Regions from separate parts of the Homo sapiens genome. Here region 1 is linked to region 2. Evidence: promoter capture Hi-C in human tissues and cell types (Jung and others, 2019). All regions are on one chromosome and are shown on one strand. The core of a region is centred on a gene start or on the middle of the fragment in contact, and the rest is flanking DNA. Distances in the headings are between cores, read along the strand shown.

What was found. The method cuts DNA at HindIII sites, captures the fragments that hold promoters and counts their contacts. A contact is called where the count stands out against the background at its distance.
Region 1: a contact is called between a fragment that was not itself captured here and the fragment with the promoter of ARAP3 in region 2, in 2 of the 25 tissues and cell types used here (pancreas and spleen).

What each region holds. Positions count from the first base shown.
Region 1 is chr5:142,219,525-142,222,634 of GRCh38, forward strand. No RefSeq gene overlaps it. Among named protein-coding and RNA genes, the nearest start is that of SPRY4-IT1, 97 kb to the right of the region's middle. The HindIII fragment of the contact is 6,422 bases long and covers 1-3,110 here.
Region 2 is chr5:141,680,869-141,684,343 of GRCh38, forward strand. ARAP3 (ArfGAP with RhoGAP domain, ankyrin repeat and PH domain 3) reads right to left here and starts at 1,362. Exons shown (of 33, transcript NM_022481.6): 1 at 1,305-1,362. RefSeq lists a silencer at 1,362-1,411. The HindIII fragment of the contact is 12,570 bases long and covers 1-3,475 here.

The sequences.
Region 1 (3,110 bases), core at 200-2,699, 540 kb after region 2:
AAATCTGGGCTGGGTGTGGTGGATCACTTGAGCCCAGGAGTTCAAGACCCGCCTGGGCAACATGGCGAAGCCCCATCTCTACTAAAAACACAAAAATTAGCCAGGCTTGGTGGCTCATGCCTGTAATCCCAGCTACTTGGGAGGCTGAGGCAGGAGAATTACTTAAACCTGGGAGGCAGAGGCTGCAGTGAGCCAAGATCGCACCCTGCACTCCAGCCTCAGTGACAGAGCGAGACTCCATCTCAAAATAAATAAATAAAACTATTGGTCGGGCGTGGTGGCTCATGCCTGTAATCCCAGCATTTTGGGAGGCTGAGGCAGGCGGATCACCTGAGGTCGGGAGTTCGAGACCAGCCTGACAAACATGGAGAAACCCCCGTCTCTACTAAAAATACAAAATTAGCTGGGCATGGTGGTACATGCCTGTAATCCTAGCTACTCGGGAAGCTGAGGCAGGGGAATCGCTTGAACCTGGGAGGCAGAGGTTGTGGTGAGCCAAGATCGTGCCATTGCACTCCAGCCTGGGCAACAAGAGCGAAACTCCATCTCAAAAAAAAAAAAAAAAAAAAACTATTGAAATCTGCATATGGTTGGGTGTGGTGGCTCACGCCTGTAATCCCAGCACTTTGGGAGGCTGAGGCTGGTGGATCACAAGGCCAGGAGTTCAAAACCAGCCTGACCAACATGGTGAAACCCCGTTTCTACTAAAAATACAAAAATTAGCTGGGCGTGGTGGTGCACACCTGTAATCCCAGCTACTCAGGAGGCTGAGGCAGGAGAATCACTTGAACCCAGGAGGTGGAGGTTGCACTGAGCTGAGATCACGCCATTGCACTGCAGCCTGGGCAACAGAGCGAGACTCCGTCTCAAAAAAAAAAAAAAAAGAAATCTGCATATGAAGCAGGGTGGGCGATGTGGTCTCCTTATCAAGCAGGAAGTGGCCTCAGAGAGGTTAAAGCCCTGTTCAAGGAGACACAGGGAATGGATAGTGAAACTGGGACTGCAATGACAGCTGCACTTGAACTTCTCCTGAAGGTGATGCTGCGGAGGGACCAGATGAAGACTCTGAGCCCCAAAGCCAGCCAGCATCTAAGGGACAGACCTCTGCTTTCAGGTCAGCCCCGACACGGCTGCCTGCTCAGGGAGGCCGACTTCCCTACAGCCCAATTCTGGGGCACTCACACATCTCTCAAATTCTTCAGTGTTCACCCTCTCCCTGGTCTTCTCCCATTGCACTTCTCCCGCCACTGACCTTGGCTTCTCCAGCCTTCCCTCCTCCAGTTTACAGCCCCAATTCACTGGGCAGTGTGGGGAGCTTGGGCCAAGGGTAGGATTTGGCTGTGGGGTGGGTGGGGTCACAGGGCAGCGAAAGCTTCACCAAACATCTTGCCCACTACCTCCACAGTCCAAGTCCGGGGATGCATTTCCTAAGGGGAGCCCAGTTCGGTATCTAAATCCTTCAAGGTGGGGAGCCAGAGGGAGAGGGGTGTTAAGATCTTTAACTTCCAGAATTCACATTCTTGCAATGAGCGGGACCCTGTCCGGCTAAGAAGCATCAGTACCACAGGAGGGAGTTTAAACAGGAAGAGGAGATTTTGCTTTGTGGTTGTGATTTTAATGCTCTCCCGGCTGGTTGGATGAGTGCCTACTTTCTGGGGCTGGGGTGGTAGGGTGGAGGTGAGAAGGTGGTGGGGGAAGAGAATAGGGAGGAAAGGAGAGTCCTCAAAAAAGTAGTGTAGCTGCATGGGAGAAAGCGATGTCTGAATCCTGTGAATCCCCTGGAGCTGCTTCCCAGCTGTTTGACCTTGTGAAATGGCCTAACTTCTCCCAACTTCCATTTCCTCATCTGTATAAAAGCAGGGACAATACTTCCTTTATTAAGCAAATATCTTCTGTCTGCCTACCGTATGCTTGACCCTGTGCAAATGAACAAGACAAACAGGAGACAGGATCTCTGCCGCCCTGGAGCTTATATTCCAGGAGGGAGACAAACAAGAAATACATCAACTATAAACAAACAAGATAATTTTGGATCATGCTAAGTGTTAGTCAAAAGCCGAAAGGGAGTGGGGAACATGGGACGGACAGGGAACTCCTCTCTGAGGACGTAGCCTCTGAACAGAGTCCTGGAAGCTGAGAAGTCAGTTCTGGAAATGGAGGAAGAGTGCTCCAGGCGCAGGGAACAGCAAGTGCAAAGGCCTTGAGATGGGAATGGGCTTGACGCGCTTGCAAAACAGGCAGTGGCCTGAAAATATAAAATGTGGTGAGCAAGCGGAGAAGTGGTTTGAGCAGAGGTGGGAGAAGTAGGCCAGAAACAGATCACACAGGGCTTTGGAGGCTATGCTGAGGGGTTTGGAAGGCTTTCGAGGGTAAGTTAAGCAGGAGAATGACATGATTAGGTATGTATTTGAAAAGATCACCACCATGAATTTTCTGAGCCTCATTTTCCCCCTCTGTTAAAAATGAGCATAATAATACATATCTCACAGGATTATAGAGGATTAAAAGACTTGAAAGTTAAAGCAACAAGCAAATTGATGAACATATATGCCCGAGGTGCACAACAAATGCCAGGACCATGATGTGAAGACTTTTTAGGAGCTCTGAAGAGATCTGCTTAGGAGTGAGGATGGTTCCTAAAGAGTTAATCAAACCTGTCTTGGGAAAAGCAATCCCATGCTGCTAATATAATGGTAAAGGATGCAATTCAGGCTGTTTATTTTTTAGAGATTCAGTGCTCCTATTAAGCAATCACTCTGTTTATGTCACTGCTAATTGAAGTAAATTGCTTTCTGCAATCAAATCGGGAAGTTCCCCCTTCCGATCACGAAAGGGACTTGGACTCTGGTTCCTGATTTCCAGTATTTAGTCTGACTTGAGATTTGCCCTGTAATTAATTGCATACATTCCACTGATTTCCTTAAACAAGCAGTTGGTTTGCCGTTGGGTCGGCAAGGGATGCGTTGATTTTGAAATTGCCCCTGGGATAGGAAGTGTTCCGCCTCCCTTCTCTCGCAACCCCAGCCACAGCAGCCTTCTGGCTGATGGAGCTGGTGGGGAGTGGGCCTCACAGCAGATGTGAGAGGTGGAAGTGAGCAGCAGGTGTGACC
Region 2 (3,475 bases), core at 112-2,611:
CTGTGGGTCAGAGTGGGATAGGGAGATGCAGAGGAGGGGCCAATGATGTGGCCAATCAGCTCTGGAGTAAGGTAGGGAGAGGGGCAGCCTAGATAGGAGGAAGGAGGTGCAGACGCCCCCTCCCTCTTGTTTCCAGAGCCGATGTATGCAGGCCTGCCGTCCTAATCCTGGTTGTTCCCAGTCCCTCCTCCCCTTCCACCTATTGTCTCTGCTCAGACTTCCTTCCTGTCCCTCCAGCCCTGGCCGCCTCCACATCCTGCCTGCTTTGGTCAGGCTGCCGGGAGAGCCCTAACCAGTCCTAATGTGTGGGGTCCCGGCCCTGGGTGGAGGCTAATTGAAGAATAAGGATGGGGATGCCAGAGAGATGAGGCCTGACCTCTGGTCAGGGGTACTCCAGAGGCTTCTGGACTCTCTGCCCACCGGCAGCATGTTCACATGCTGTTCACCTGTGTGTGCACATGCCCTGTAGCGATTTGGCAGTGTGAAATGCCATCCCCCCACCTCTGCTTTCTCCAAGCCTTCCTTTTCTGAGCTTGCCTTTTCCCTGCTCATTCCCTTGGGCTCAGGTCTCTGTGCTCTGTCCCCCTTCCACCAGCCTGACCCCGACCCTGACCCTGGTCTATTTCATAGACCTGTCTCTAATTCTGTGGCCCCTGAGTTTTATCTCTGCCTTGTCACTGTCCCTGCCCCATTCCATCTCAACCTCTCAATTCTTCTTTGTCCCTCTCCTTGTCCCACCCTGTTTTGCTCTCTGTTATTAAGCTTGTCCTTGACTCAGTCTACAATTCTAACCAGATCTTGAGTTGTATCTGTGTCTCTGTCTGCCTCTGAGCCTGGGTTTCTGTCTTCCGCCTCGGCCTAGGCTCTCTCCCTGTTACTCTTGTGCTCTGTCGGTGACCAGGACGCCCTCTCCGTCCCAGCATCACTGCTGGCCTCCCTCTGCCTCTCTCCAGCTGGGCCTCATTCCCAAGCCAGGGCCCGCGTGCTGAGCCTCGGGCCCTGACTCAGGGCCCGGTTTCCCGGTGACTCAGGCCGGGCTCGACAGCACGGGGCTGGGAGCTGAGGTGCTCGCGGGACAGGAGTGGCGGGGGCGGGGCGGGCAGTGGCGGGCAGCGCAGGCTGCGACGAGGGAGGGGGCGAGGAGGGATGGGGCAGAGGCCGGGCAGCAGGAGGGAGGGGCGGGTCGTGGCAGGGATGGGGAGGGCCGCCGGCGCCGAGGGGGCCTGGGAGCCCACGAAGGCCCTCGAGAAGGTGATGGGGAGGAGTCTGGGAAGCAGGGACCCGGGGGGCGCGGGGGTCCTCACCTCACTACGCGGCCGCCGTCCGCTCGCGGGTGCCCGCCGCTCGTCCGAGGTTCTGGGTCCCGCCGCGCCGGCCCCGCCTCCCCTCTGCCCTCCCTCGACGGGCCCAGCCCCGCCCCGCCCGGCCGGTTCCCTCCGCGGGGCCCCGGCCACTCCTTGTGCAAGCGCAGGCCTCCAAAGGGTTTGGGCTTCTTGCCCAACCGCCGCGCTTATCTCCGAGTCTGCCCCCAGTCTGCCCTCTCGCAGGCCGAGAAAGGACCAGAACACGTTGGGACGAAGACAACCTCAGGGAGAGGGACAAAGAGGCAGAGACCGGGACGGAGACTGGGACGGAGGTAGAAACTGAGAAAGGGAGAGTGCCAGGGACGGCTTTGCATCCTCTCCGCTGCTCCCATGCCCTCCAGTCCTGCCAAAAGGGAGGAGGAAAGGTCGAGCCCTAATCCCCCAGGGCACCTCTCCCACGCCCGGAAGGGTGGCTGGACCCTGGCAACCAGTTTAGTGTGGGGACGGAAGCTGGACATCCAGAATTGAGACTTGGCCTGGGCAACAAGCGCAGAGGCCCAGCAGAGGGGTACCCGTCTGTTTCTCCCCACTTCCATCCCCAAGGGCCCGGCCTAGGTTCCTTCGAGGGATGAAGGTCCGCAAGGCACATCCCTACTTCCAAACCAAGGTTTGGGGCTGCCTTTTTGGGACAGGCGGACGCCCTGCAAGCTCAGTGACCAAGCAAGCAGCTGTTTCATTCATGGGAGAAGCCGCCCCTTCTCCCCAACTCCCACCCTAAAATTTCAGGGGGGATGCCGGGGAGGCCTGAAGAGGAATGGCCCTTCTCTCCTTCGCTAATCTTGCCGGAACCCCGGTCCTGGAGCCTGTCTCCCAGGGGCGGAGGCACTTCCCTCTCTGAGCAGGACCAGTGTTTGGGTGTGGGGGGGGGGTGTTTGTGTGTGTGTGTGTGTGTGTGTGTGTGTGTGTGTGTGTGTGTGTGTGTGTGTATGTGTTGGGGGTGGCGGGGGCGCTGGCCGGCTGTGTTTTCCTGTTTGTATGAGAGGAAGTTGGCTGTGAGTCAGCAGACACAGGAACTGTCAGTAGCTAGGGGAAGACCCCTGCCTCAGGGGAAGAAGAGGGGAGTGGGAGGAAGTGGTTCCCACCTCTTCCAGCTGCCTCAGCTAGGGGAGGGACTGTCATCTTCAACCTACTGGAGCCCCACTTTCCCGGCCTTCCCTTTGAGAAAGAGAATTATAGTAATAAAATAATAATTGCAATAGCCATAATAAGGGCTACCAATTATTGAGAGCTGACCGTGCTCCAGGATCTATGTAAACATTGCTTTGCAAACTTTAATCCTCACAAATATCCCTACAAATAGGAAATTTTATCACCTCTATTTTACATATAAGGAGACAGGGAGCATTAAATAACTTGCTCAAGACTCTGCAGCTAGAAAATAGCCAACCCTCCAAGTCTATATCTATAACTACCATGCTCACCTACCACCCTGGACAGGACCCCTGCACCATGTCCTTTTTTTCAGATGGGCAACTGTGGTGGCAGTGAGAATGCTCCTCACAGATCTTACACTGTGAGGAGTGAAATTAACCAATGGCCCCAGCTGCTTCTCTCTGAAATCTAAGGCCAGCTTCCCACTGGGCTGCTCCCAGCCAGTGACAGAGCTCAGCAGAGATCTAAGGCAGACCCATTCCTGGGAGATAGGGGACTCCTTTGACAGCTGACTTTGGATCAAGATTTCCCAATGGCTTTGCTGAACTTTCCTTTGACTGGTGTTTTAGGATGCTCCTCTCAACCTTTATTCCTTCCCTCTCTCCTTCACAGCTCTCCTAGCTCCAGGCTCCCTTCCTCTCTCACAGGCATCTCCCCTAGTCAAATCCTTGCATTCTGCCTTGGCAGCTTCTTCTTTAAGGACTCAGACTAACCCAGCAAAATAAGGGAGCAGGAAAAGACAGTAAAGGGCACAGGGAGTTTTGAGGAATGGATGCCGGGGAGTTTGGGTCAGGGGCTAGATGCAAGAGTTCTGAACCTTTTTGTGCCATGTTCTCCTTTGGCAATACGGTAAAGTATGTGGTCTCATCTCAGAATAATATTTTAAAATGCATAAAATAAAATATATAGGATTGCAAAGGAAACCAATTATGTTGTAATACACATATAAAACCGATGTG